Regions from separate parts of the Homo sapiens genome. Here region 2 is linked to region 1. Evidence: promoter capture Hi-C in 16 types of primary human blood cells and fetal thymus (Javierre and others, 2016). All regions are on one chromosome and are shown on one strand. The core of a region is centred on a gene start or on the middle of the fragment in contact, and the rest is flanking DNA. Distances in the headings are between cores, read along the strand shown.

Evidence for each region. The method cuts DNA at HindIII sites, captures the fragments that hold promoters and counts their contacts. A CHiCAGO score of 5 or more calls a contact.
Region 2: a fragment that was not itself captured here is called in contact with the fragment with the promoter of FLII in region 1 in 1 of 17 cell types (fetal thymus); the score reaches 5.7 in fetal thymus.

Annotation. Positions count from the first base shown.
Region 1 is chr17:18,256,947-18,263,747 of GRCh38, reverse strand. FLII (FLII actin remodeling protein) reads left to right here and starts at 5,010. Exons shown (of 30, transcript NM_002018.4): 1 at 5,010-5,120; 2 at 6,729-6,801. The coding sequence starts at 5,058. MIEF2 (mitochondrial elongation factor 2) reads right to left here and starts at 3,086. Exons shown (of 4, transcript NM_139162.4): 1 at 3,011-3,086; 2 at 881-1,034; 3 at 500-662; 4 at 1-38. The coding sequence starts at 1,027. RefSeq lists enhancers at 1,537-2,156, 2,157-2,777, 3,399-3,528, 5,138-5,639, 5,639-5,718 and 1 more and silencers at 4,919-5,318, 5,329-5,468. The HindIII fragment of the contact is 11,245 bases long and covers 1-6,801 here.
Region 2 is chr17:18,851,941-18,858,360 of GRCh38, reverse strand. It overlaps PRPSAP2 (phosphoribosyl pyrophosphate synthetase associated protein 2), which reads right to left and starts at 230. Exons shown (of 12, transcript NM_002767.4): 1 at 100-230. RefSeq lists a silencer at 1-132 and enhancers at 1-451, 2,231-2,290, 2,311-2,360, 1,879-2,379. The HindIII fragment of the contact is 526 bases long and covers 3,547-4,072 here.

The DNA.
Region 1 (6,801 bases), core at 3,761-6,260:
CTGTGGTGTCACCTCAGGATCAGTTTCTGCAGGCCCTTCTGCAGAGTGAAGGGGCGGGGAACATGTCGGAACAGCCTGTGATTAGTTAAGAAAACGCCACCGAGAACTAGCTGTGTGATGTCCCAGGGCCTCACTTTTCTCACCTGCAGTGGCACCTGAGAAGGCACTCAGTTCAGATCCTCACATATAGTGAGCTCTTGGTGACGAGTTCTCATTGCCCCAGAGTCCAACACCCTGGCGACAACAGCTTCATGCAGAGTAGGTAGGTATGTCACGCCCCTCTGGACCTCAGTTTCCCCATCTAAAGCTCCCCACCATCACAACGCTACCACCTTGCTCCAGGAACAGGGCAAAGAAACACCACCCCCATTAAATATCTGAGGAGCCCACAACCGAGAGAGAAGCAGGGACTCGCGCAGGGTCACACAGTCAGTCAGGGCAAAGCCTGGGCTGCGTCTCTTGAATGTGACACCAAAAGAGGGGAAGGAGTGCCACTCACCTGGGGCAGACGACGAGGGGGCCAAGGGCAACACTGGCTGGCTAAGGGCAGCAGGTGGAGGCCGGGGCTGCAGGTGTGGTGTGGCCTTGAGCAGGCTCAGTTCCTTCCAGCTGTCTGCCTTGGTGTCATCCTCATCCCGCGGGCTAGTGGCCCTGTCAATGAACTGCAAGCACAGTCACACAGATCAGTGTATATGAAATCTGGGCAGTCATAGCAAAGCCCAGGGCAAAGCAGACCAGCGTGCTGGGTGGAGAAGCAGGTGCCCTGGGCTCCCATGAAGGCCTTGGGCAGTCCCCACCCCTCCCCAGGGCCCCTCTGAAAAGCCCAACCCTGTTGTCCTCCTCTAGGAGCTTCAGGCATGACCCGCCCACTTGGCCTTACCCGCTTCACGGCCAGGGTGGCAATGCCCAGCACAGCAGCCCCGCCCACGCCCAGCACCAGGCGGGCATTGGCCAGGAGGAAGTCCACCATGCTGCCCAGCCCTTCGTCGCTACGCCGCTTCCCCCGTTTCTGGGAGAACTCTGCCATGGTCTGCCTGTAAGAGAGCCAGGGGTGAAGGGGCAGCTCAGGTGCAGGTGGCCAGGCTGGGAGAGGGGCTGCTGTGGACAGGTGCTCTAGCTGTCCTTATGCTGGGTAACAGAGCTGAGCCCATGAGGGGGGCTTTCTGAGAATTTCTCAGAGAAAGGGGCCACCCATCCACAGGGGAGGACACCGAGGCCCTGGGAAATCACGTAAAGTACCTGAGAAAGGGCAGGGATGGGATATGAGCTTGGGTTTTGGGGTCCCAAGCCCCCATCTCTCATGAGGAGATGAGGGAGCTGCCAAGCCCCTTCTCCCAAAGCTGCCTGGAAAGAAGCTCACAAAGGCCCTGAGGCTTGTGCAGGTATAGGAAGGGGCCTCTCTCCCTGGAGCCCACCCTCCAGGACCTCTGACATCACCAGGGTGTCATCATCACTACCCCTATGTTACAGAGCTACAGGCTGCCAGCTCACAAGTGAGTGGTAAGGTCTCCAACCCATGACTGCAAGGCCTCCAGACTCTCATCCGCCCACAGAGTCTGACGGATTCTCCCTGTGCCAGGTGCCCAGGTCCTCAGCAGCAGCCTCATCTGAAGGTTCCTACCCAGAGGGCACAGCAGCCCTCTATGATAACCTCTTCAGAAGAGCCCAAAGTCCAGAGAAGACCAACAATTTGGGGCCCCAGCCAGTCTGGGGGACCACTGGGACCAGTTACCCCCAAATCTTGACAGGGTAGCCCAAGAGGCAGAGCTACCAAGTCAGAGCACGGGCAGAGTAAGACGGCCCAAGCTGCCCAGGCAGGCCAATGCAGATGTGCTTGTCAGGGTTGAAGCCCCTTTGGCAGGGCAGAAAGGGCTGCCCAGTGCCTCTGTACAGGGGGCTCTCTGGGCCTCTCAGTCTTGGGACAATGTGTAGGTAGTGGTGGGTGATGCTTCTCAACTGCCGGAAGGCCAAGCAACACAGAAAGTAAGGTGAAGGCCTGGGCCCCAGCCTGTTTGCTCACCTGTAAGATGGCATAGGCAGCAGTGAGGGGCAGATGTGGGCAGCCTTGAAGTGTGTGGCTGGGTGGGGGCCAGCACTTGGGAAGTGGAGGCAAAGATCTCCTAGGGCCCAGTCCACATTCCTCACGTTCTGCGAGGGGGACACTGCCCTCAGGCCCTGGGAGCTGAGAAGGGCTGGGACCTTAGGACATCAGTTAGACACCAAGCAGAACTCTCCCGGGGAGGCCTGAGCAGATGACCATGAGGTCACAGCCTGCCCGGGCACCAAGGACTTCTACCTGCCCTGCCAGAGTGTGGGTGCCAGGGGCCCAGTTGCCAGGTGACCAGATGCCTGGAGTAGCTGAAGCCTGAAGCGCTGTGTGACTCAGCCCCGTACACCCGCCCATTCGCCCCAGACTAAAAATAAGACGGTCTCTGGGGCGATCCCAGGCCAACCGGGTGACCCGCCACGGCCCCAGGGCCGGTTTCAATCTCCTCATCGGTGACTCGGGGATCAATACTGCCACCCGCCCCCAGAGAGACCAGGAATCTACTTTGCAAACTGTAAAGCGCTTTAAATACTCCCAACCTGTCTAAATTGGGACTCAGCCCCATCTCTGGCGGGGTCGCGCAGGCCTCAGTCCACAGCCTTCCAGCTCCGAGAAGCAGGAAAGGGCACGGGTGGCTGAAAATAACCCAAGTTTGCGCAGCGGGGCCCTGGAGGCCGTTTGGCCTTCCCTCCTCCGCCAAACCTGCCTGCCCTGGGCCCGGGCGGAGCAGGCCGCGCAGCAGCCCTAGGTGGGCGGGTGACGCCCCGTTCGCAGGATAAACCAAGAGACCGAGAGGGGAAGGGGGCTGGGCTAGGATTCGAACGCTGCCCTTGGTCCCCCAAAGGTCCCCTCCCCGCCTTCCCCAGCGGTGATCGCGGGCCACGCCCCCGATCTGCGTTCCGTCGCGCGCCAAGCCCCGAGCCCGGTGACCCTGGGGGCCGCCCCGCCGCGCTCCAGCTGTACCTGCGTCGCAGCTTCCGCACGACGACCGGAGGAGGCAGCGGGACCACGGCCCCGGAGCTCAGACCAGCCTGGGAATGGAACGTGAAGGACCCTGGAACCCAACGACTAGGGCCCCGGGGGCAGCCGCGGACTTCGCAGCACGCAGACAAGCAGGCCCTAACTCCAATCGGAGCGCTCGAGTCCAGCGCACAGGTGCCAAAATACTGCGCGGTTCAGCCAATGAAGGGCAGGTCCCGCCCCCCAGCCGACAGCCGCACTCCCTCTGGGGCGGGACTCCCTGACGCAGTCTGGATTTAAAGGTGCAGGGCTGCATTCCGAGACCGCGAACAGGTGACGTGACAGGCGACCCTCCAGGACGTCTGTGCGTTGTAATGTGAGCCTCCGGTGTGGAGGAAGCTGTCTGGGCCCCGTTCCTTCTGGGGACCAGGTAGAGAGGCTGCACATGGCTAGAGGCCCGGCACATCCAACCTCTTAGGTCACCTCTGCGAGAGAGTGTCTTGGTGGCCTCATTCTTACCTGTGGGCCTGAGGGGCACAGCGCCTACCCCTGCCACCTGCTCTGTGCGAGCTTGTGTGGGCCATTCTCCACCTGGGCATCAGTTTTTCTCCTGTAAAATGGGGACACTAGACCCCCTCCTCCCCTGCGAAGGATGGTTGGGCATATAACAGCTGTGGCTCATTTATTGGGGTCCTGCTATGTGTCAGCCAGGGCGAGCCCCCTTGAACAGCAAGGACCAAGACGGATGCTTCTCTTCTGGAGCCTCCCTTTGTAGGGGGGTACGAGCACAGGGGTGCTGACACTAAGTGGGAATAATAACCTGGCGCACAAAACAAAACAAAACGGAATAATAACCTGCCACTCACTGAGCGCCTGCTGTATGCTGCGAGCTACACGTGCATTCTTTGTTAATTTGCTCATGGTGACAACCTTAGAAAGTATTTTACAAATGAGGAAACTGGGTAGGGCGCGGTGGCTCACGCCTGTCATCCCAACACTCTGAGAAGCTGATACCAGAGGATCACTTGAGGCCAGGAGATCAAGACCAGCCTGGGCAACATAGCAAGCACCCCGTGTCTACAAAAAGTATAAATAAGGCCGGGCGCGGTGGCTCACGCCTGTAATCCCAGCACTTTGGGAGGCCGAGGCGGTTGGATCACGAGGTCAGAAGATCGAGACCATCCTGGCTAACACGGTGAAACCCCGTCTCTACTAAAAATACAAAAAAAAAAAAAAAAAAAATTAGCCGGGCGTAGTGGCGGGTGCCTGTAGTCCCAGCTACCCGGGAGGCTGAGGCAGGAGAATGGCGTGAACCCGGGAGGCGGAGGTTGCAGTGAGCCGAGACTGCGCCACTGCACTCCAGCCTGGGCGACAGAGCGAGACTCTGTCTCAAAAAAAATAAAAAATAAATAAAATAAATAAATTTAGCCAGGTGTGGTGGCCTGCGCCTATAATCCCAGGTAGTCGGGAGGCTGAGCCCAGGAGTTCGAGGCTGCAGTGAGCTATGATCACACCACTGCACTCCAGCCTGGGCAGCAGAGCAAGAAGACCCTGTCTCAACAAAACAAAAACAACACATGAGGAAACTAAGTCCAGAAGCAGGAGAGCTAGGACCCGAGGATCCAGGTGTCTCACTACCACCGGTCAGCCAAGTACAGGCACTTCCTGGGCCTCTGCGCCCCGGGGCCGAGGTTTAGAATCTCTCTGAGGTCAGGGCCAGCTTCATGTGCTGCAGCAGCGCAGGTGACGGTGCCTCGACCAGCGGCCGTTACGGCCCCTGCCCTGGGGCGCTGGGACTTAAGCCTGGAGATCGTGGAAGCCTCCAACTCCAGCACAGGGGGGGCCCGCACTCCTTGGTGCCTCCGCAGTCTTCGAACAGACGGGGAAACTGAGGCCCTAAGAGGCCTAAAGCCTACACTTCCCCGCGGAATGCGGCGGGCGCGGGCGGGTTAAAGGGGCGGGGCCGGCGCTGGCCCAGCCCGCGGCTCCCCCCAGCGCCCTCGCCCCGGCGCTCCCTAGCCCGGCGCGGCCCGGCAGCGAGAGCGGCGCCATGGAGGCCACCGGGGTGCTGCCGTTCGTGCGTGGCGTGGACCTCAGCGGCAACGACTTCAAGGTGAGCCGGGCCGGGCGCGTGCCGGGCCTCCCTGCAGGCCTTCTCTTCCGCCCGGCCCGCTTGGCCTCCGCTTCCTGTCCCGCTCGGCTCCAGGCCCTGCGTGTCCCAGGGACTGCGGCCGGGGCGGGGTGGGGCTCTCCCCTGGCCAGGAATGGACCTCCGAGGCCTCCGCCCAGTGCCTGTACGGGGAGACCGAGGCTGGGCAGGCCGGGGACGGACGCTTGGGCTCGGAGTCCCGCCGGGGGCCCGGCCGGGAGCCCCCACCCCGCGTCCGTGTTCTCGGTCTAGGCTGGATGGTGGCCTGGGGATCGGGCGAGCCTCCCCGCCCCTCTGAGGTCACACGCCCAAGCCAGGCCCTGACTCAGGGATGGCTGCCCGGCTGCCCAGGGGCGGGTGTGGAGCCGACTCATCACTGCCCTCTCCCCGCCACCGCCACCCGCCATACTGTGTGATCCTGGGCCTCTCAGATCACTTCCCCTCTCAGAGCCTAGGCTTTCTCAGCCGGTGAAGGGGCTTAAAAGTCTCCTCCTTGGACGCAAGGAGTATAGTGAGATTTGTTGGTGTGGAGAGTGTGTCAGGCCGGTGTGCCAGGTGCTGGGTGGCAGTTGTCTGAGCAGCTGCTGGACTGAGAGAAAAGGGACCGGAGCCCAGCCCTCCGCAGCCAGTGGGTGGGGCGGCGGGGTGGTTCCAGGACTCAAGAATGAGACAGGCATTGCCTGACCAAAGGGGAAGCAGAGAAAGAGAGGGAGGGAGAGCTGGCTGGAGGGTCAGCCTCACCTTCAGGGTGGGTGACTGGCAGGGTCGGCCTGGGTTGTTGGTCTGGGGCTGGGGCCGAGGAGGCAGGTTTTTCCTGCGTTTACCTGCCTGTGTACACACCTTTGACCCCAAGTACAAGTGGCTACACCACTTTTCCCTGACCCCATCCCCACCACCCTAACCTGGGGTCCCCGTTCCTCTTTGCTGAACTGGGAGAGTCCGAGTCACCAGCTGGGAATGTGGCGCTAGGGGGAAAGGAATATCAGCCGCAGGCACTGAAGGCACCTACTGCCCCAGACTTGGTGCCACAAGGGCTGGAGGTGCCGAGGTGGGCGTTCACACACCAGGGGAGTGCAGTGATGCTGGCCTGCCCTGCAGGGTGGGGAGCCACGGTCTCCGCAAGCAAGGGTTTGACCCTGGCCGTGAGTTGCCAGTGTGCTGATGGCAGGATGAGGGCACAGGTGGCGCCTTTGCAAAGGCTTGGAAGGGGGATCCCCCACCCCAGGCAGCCAGTCAGAGTGTGGAATGCTAGGTGAAGGAATTTGAGCCGAGCTAACCACAGAGCCGGATGCTGGGCTTTCACCTGAAACAAGCCAGTTTTGTCCTGGCCCTCCTGGGGCCCAGAATCCAGTAGGAGAGACAAATCTTAGGCCAACACTTTTGTCACGGGGGGGCTTAAAATTCCCATTCTATGGGTGAAGAAATTGAGGCACAATGATGAAATGACTTGTCTGTGTTCTCACAGATGGTGAGAGTTGGTTCTGTGGCTCCCCAAAGGCTCCCATGGGCTGGAGGAGCCATAGAAGGTGGTGAGCAGGGGCTCTGTGCTTCACCTTGACATCCTTCCCCCAGGGCGGCTACTTCCCTGAGAATGTCAAGGCCATGACCAGCCTGCGGTGGCTGAAGCTGAACCGCACTGGCCTCT
Region 2 (6,420 bases), core at 2,560-5,059, 600 kb before region 1:
TGCCGGCGCCGCGGGCTCCCCGCCCCTTGCACCTGCGCCCCGCAATGCCGGAGCCAGCCAGCCCTCGCTGCCGCTCGCCACTGGCTCCCGCCCGCCTACCTGGCCCCGACCCCAGCCCCGGCCCCGCCGCAGCCTCAGCTGCAGAAGGAAGAAAGCGCCGGGTCTCCTGGCGGCCTCTCTAGGAGCAAAATGGCGACTCCATGCACAAGATTGGCGTCCGCGGTGACTGCGAGGCCGGTGGGCGGGGAGGGGCGAGGGCGGGACTAGAGCCCGGACAGCGGAGGCACCTAGCTGGGGGCTGTGGGCGTGGCCCACCAGTGGGTAAGGCGCGGGGCAGTGGGTGTAGCCACAGGGGTGGAGTCGGGCTGGCACGATGGGCGGGGCGGTGGGCGGGGATGCGCCTGTTTTGGTCCCTGGGGAGCTGCTAGCCCCACACCAACTGTGACAGCCCAGGCAGGTTACAAGGAATGAATGTGGACAGAGTATGACATTTGGAATTACAAATACCTGGGTTCAAGCCTCCACTGGCCTGTAACCTTGGACAAGTCATTTCAACCCTCTGAGCTTGTTTCCTCATCTGAAAAACAAAGATAGCAGCACCCATTCCATAAGACTGTTGTGAGGATTAAATGAGACAATACGGCCAGACGCGGTGGTTCACGCCTGTAATTCCAGCACTTTGCGAGGCTGAGGCGGGCGGATCACGAGGTCAGGAGTTCGAGACCAGCCTGACCAACATGGTGAAACCCCCATCTCTACTAAAAATACAAAAAAAAAAAATTAGCCAGGCGTGGTGGTGCGCGCCTGTAATCCCAGCTACTCAGGAGGCTGAGGCAGGAGAATCGCTTGAACCCGGGAGGCAGAGGTTGCAGTGAGCCGAGATCGCGCCACTGCTCTCCAGCCTGGGTGACAGAGCAAGAGTCCATCTCAAAAACAAAACAAAACAAAACAAAACTGTGCTAAAAGCACAGTTCTGGGTGTATAATAAATGATCAGTTTTTTGTTCGTTTGTTAGTTTTTTGTTTTGAGACGGAGTTTCGCTCTGTTGTCCAGGCTAGAGTGCATCGGCGCGATCTCAGCTCACTGCAAACTTCGTCTCCCGGGTTCAAGCGATTCTCCTGTCTCAGCCTCCCGAGTAGCTGGGATTACAGGTGTGCGCCACCACGCCCGACTAATTTTTTGTATTTTTAGTAGAGACAGGGTTTCACCATGTTGGCCAGGCTGTTCTCAAACTCCTGACCTCAAGTGATCCGCCCGCCTCCGCCTCCTAAAGTCCTGGGGTTACAGGCGTGAGCCATCGCGCCCAGCCATTATCAGTTATTATCGTTATTTGCCTTGTCGCCTTTTTTTCTTTTATTATAAAGGAATTAGTACTTTTGGTATCCATTGCCTAAGTTCTTTATAACTTAGGTAATGTTTACTCTTTATTGTATGTATAACATAATAATAGCAAACACATGGTCCTCTTTTAAGTGCTTTACATATATTAACGGTAACTTATTTAATCCTCACAAGAGCATAAGGTAGGTGTTGTTATCCTCTCCATTTTAATAGTTGTGGGAACTGAGACGACGACGTTAAATAACTTTTCCAATGACAAAGCAGTGGACAGAATTTCGACCCAGGAGGCTTTGCACCAGTCTTCACTTACCTAATCCCTATACCACATCTTCTCTCCAATTCTGCTTTGGATTTTTCACAATAATGAGGCATGAAATATTCATCAGAGGTTGCAGAGCTAGCTAGAGTCTTTATGGTTCAACGTCTTATTTTAGAAACGAAGAATACAAGCATCTCAACTAACGAATTGTAAATTAGGTGAGACTTCGTGAAATGGAGTCGTTTGAAACATTTCCTTTGCCTGACAACTTTACAGGGACATACCTCTTTGTAAAGAGCAAGACCCATGAGCCCAGTGATTATCTGCATACCAAAATTGATTCCTCTTCAGCGGTACCTCGGCTGGGCTCACGTCCCTTCTGCGCTGGCATCTAACTCCGGTCACAACCCCCACCTCTCTGCTGTGGCTGGCGTAGATTCCACGCGTCACATGTTGGCATGTGACTGGATCTGGCCAGTCAGAGAAGTTCATCCCTCTCCGCTCGCTGATTCGCTCCAAAGATAGGCTACTGAGCCAATCGGAGCCCACGAAACACCGTCTCCATCCCTGCGCCGGGACTGGAGAGGCTTACTCTCTCCTGCTGATGCTGCAGCTGCTGGGATGCCAGGAGGGGAACCGCCTGAGGAAAGTGCTGAGAGAAAAGAGAGGGAGGGATACAGACCGGGCCCAGATGAGTTTGCGCTGAATCTGAAGTCGGTAGGTCCCTGGACATTTCTATTATGGAAGCCAAGAAGAACCTCCCCTCCACCCTCTGAAGCCAGTGTGGATCGGGTTTCTGGCACTTGCAGTGTCTGCACGGTCTCCTCTCCTTCCTTCTCCATTGCCCTTTCTCACCCGCCTGGGCCCGCCACCCTGAACTACCGGGACACATGCTGTTCCTGCCTCCAGGCGTGCACTTCTTCCTGCAGCCTCCTCCCCTACTAACTCCTTCTTGAACTTGATAGCTCCATTGTCACTTTCGAGTCTTCCCTAAACCACTCCCTTCCCAAATAAAACTGTTTCATGTATTTTTCTTTCATTGGGCTTATCACGATTTCTAATTAAGTGTTTGGGTGGTTATTTGACAAATATCACCACCTCAGCCCCTGTACACTGTAAGCCCCATGAGGGTGGGCTCTTCGTCCCTCCTGCTGATCACTGTTTCCCAGGGCCTGGCACAAGTATGGTACTCAAGAAATGTCTGGAAAATTGAGTGCCTTATCCTTTCTGGAAAGAAAATGGGCAGTAGCGCAGCATTATATAGTGTTTGCACCATACAAGAATAATATTACTGGAAAAAAAAAAACTTTTCTAAGAGACAGAGTCTTGCTCTGTTGCCCAGGCTGGAGTGCAGTGGTGCAATCATAGCTCACTGCCGCCTCGAACTGGGCTCAAGTGATCCTCCCGCCTCGACCTCCAAAACGCTGGGATTGCAGTCATGAGCCACCACACCTGGCCTTGAATTTTTTAAAAAATCCACTCTCATTAACCAGAATGAGCTAGCTCCAGTGTATCACCGCGTCCAGGGTTCTGCAGTGGGGTGGCTTGCTCCTCAATAGTTTCCCGCACTGCAGGCACTTAGTTTGTAGTTTCATTTGTTCTGTTATAGCAATACCACTCTTCCATCCGCCATCCATTCTCCAAGGACTATTGAAATCCCTTGTAGGCTGATGTCAAAACTCTCATTCTCTTTATCCTTGGGGTTTAGGCCATAGGAGTGTGCCATGGTAGGTGTTCAGCCAAGCTGACCCACCAGGTGACTGCAGCCCCAGCCACCACCTGACTGCAACTTTATGAAAGACCCTAAGCAAGAGCCACCTAGCTAAGACCAATCAAACCACAAAAAATTGAGAGCTAAGAAATTTTTTATTAAAGCCCAAGTCTGGGCATATTTTGTTATACAATGGGTAATGAGCAAGAAAGGAGCAAAAGCATAATGTAAAGCTTGTGGTCAGTTCCACACGAATGCAGTTTTTGGTTAGTCCATTGCTAAACTTGATAATCCCTTGCCCACTTGGATGTTTGCAGTCAGAGTCTTTGCATGTAATAGAAGTGCTCAGCTTGCTGCAACACGTCATTGGCCATATTCAAGGGCTAAACTGCTGTATATCGACTATAAATCAAGATACTCAAGTCTAAGACATTTCCCTTCAACATTTTTTAAAGGAAGGAAAGGAATCTTTGCTATAGTTTGATAGAAATTTTTGAGCAGTATGGTGTAACAAAAAACACAGGATTCTCCTTCAAATGGTTGTGCAAATGAAAAAACAGGGACTTAGGTGTCCATCACTAGGATGGAGCCTGCTTCCTGCCTCCTGTCCTCATTGTGGAAATGACCCTGGACAGATCCACCTCTCTAAGTTTCTGTTTCCTCAGTGGAAAAATGAGCACTAATATTAGCAGCCATATGATGGTTGGGGGTGAGGAGTTACTTTTAGATGGAGTCCATGAGTATGAGGCACCGAGGAAGCTTTTGCAGCTGCCTCTCTGCTCTCGCCTGTCTGGCTATCAGGGAAGAAAAACAAGGCACCCCTTTTTCCCCAGTGGAAGAGGATGGCAGCTTGCCTGGCTGTAGGAGGCAGCGGAGGCCAAAGCCAGGTCACCAGCCAAGGAGGCCTTGGAAGTTCCTATAGAGTCCTTTCCTGCATCCTCCAGCTTTTTTCCTTTTTCTTTTCTTTTTTCTTTTTTTGAGATGGAGCCTTGCTCTGTTGTCCAGACTGGAGTACAGTGGCGCAATCTTGACTCACTGCAACCTCCACCCTCCCGGGTTCAAGCTATTCTCCTGCCTCAGCCTCCCAAGTAGCTAGGACTACAGGTGCATGCCACCACACCCGGCTAATTTTTGTAATTTTACTAGAGATGGAGTTTTGCCATGTTGGCCAGGCTGGTCTCGAACTCCTGACCTCAAGTGATCCACCCATCTCGGCCTCCCAGAGTGCTGGGAATACAGGCATGAGCCACTGTGCCCGTCCTCTTTTCTCCTTTTTCTATTTTCCCCCAAAATGAAAGGAACTTCATTGTCTTTTTTTTTTTTCCCGAGGCTGAGTCTCACTCTGTCATCCAGGCTTGAGTGCCGTGGCGCGATCTTGGATCACTGCAACCTCTGCCTCCTGGGTTCAAGCGGTTCTCCTGCCTCAGCTCCCCAGCAGCTGGGACTAAGAACTTCATTGTCTTTTGTAAGCATAATAATATTTACACATTGTAAGAAAAATTCAAATGAGAAAGAAGAAAAAATTAAAAAGATATTTGCCATTATCCCATGTGGAGAGGTAGCCACTCTTGGAATTTTCCAATATGCCTTTTCCCTGTAACAATTTATTGCAGGCATGATTCCATGTTGATGAATTCAGGTCGACATCATCATGATATGAGCTGTGAATGAAAGACTGTAGTCTTGGGAACCAGCGCCTAGATCCAAATTCCTTCTCTCCTCACCAGCTGTGTGACCTCAACAAGTTTCTTAACCTCTCTATACCTGTTTCCTCATCTACAAAATAGGAATAATAACAGCATCTATGTCATAGGGGAATCTTGATGACCACTTGAGTTATCTGGCACACAGTTGACTACCACTTTCTATTAACCGCAGCGATTATGAGCTATTGTGATATGGATGAACCATTATTTTCTCTTAACTAATCCCTCATTCTGGGCACTTTTTACTATTAATACATAACCTGTCTTTCTACCTTTGCCCAAGTATTTCCTCACGTTAAATTTCTAGAGGTAAGCTTGTTTGGTCAAAGGATATGCCCTTTTAAAATTTTGTTCCCTGAAATTTTGTACCAATTTACAGTCTCACCAGGAAGGTGGAAGAGCATCCATGTCTCTTCATCTTCACCAACACCAGGCACCATCCATTATTTTTAGCTTGTCCAAGTGAATAGTCAATGTTTTCTGGGCTTTTAAAATTACTTGTCCACGGGCCAGGTGTGGTGGCTCACACCTGTAATCCCAGCACTTTGGGAGGCCGAGGCAGGCAGATCACCTGGGGTCAGGAGTTCAAGACCAGCCTGGCTGACATGGGGAAACCCCATCTCTACTAAAAATACAAGAAAATTAGCCAGGCGTTGTGGCAGGCACCTGTAATCCCAGCTACTGAGGAGGCTGAGGCAGGAGAATCGCTTGAACCCAAGAGGCAGAGGTTGCAGTGAGCCAAGATCACACCATTGCACTCCAGCCTGGGCGACAAAAGTGAAACTCTTTCAGAGATTCAAAATAAATAAATAAATTAAAAATAAAATAAAATTACTTGTCCAAATCAGGCTGCCTGTAGCTACCCTGGCTGCCTTGCTAGCTGACTTTTACCTCCATTCATTTACTCAACAAATATCAATAAAGTACTTAACTCATGCCAGGCCCAGTGCTGAGGGTTGGGGCTACAGCTGGGAATGGCAAAGCACCCACCTCATACAGTGACCATAGTAGATGATCCACTGCATGCTAAGAGTTTAACAAAGTCCTGCTTTAGTATCCAATAAGCTATACTAGGTAGGTTAAATATTTATAATATATATGCTCTCTGGATATATAAGGAGTTTTGGGCCGGGCACGGTGGCTCATGCCTGTAATCCCAGCAGTTTGGGAGGCCGAGGAGGGTGGATCACCTCAGGTCAGGAGTTCGAGACCAGCCTGACCAACATGGAGAAACCTCGTCTCTACTAAAAATACAGAATTAGCCGGTCGTGGTGGCACATGCCTGTAATCCCAGCTACTCAGGAGGCTGAGGCAGGAGAATTGCTTGAACCCGGGAGGCGGAGGTTGTGGTGAGCCAAGATCACGCCATTGCACTCCAGCCTGGGCAACAAGAGTGAAACTTG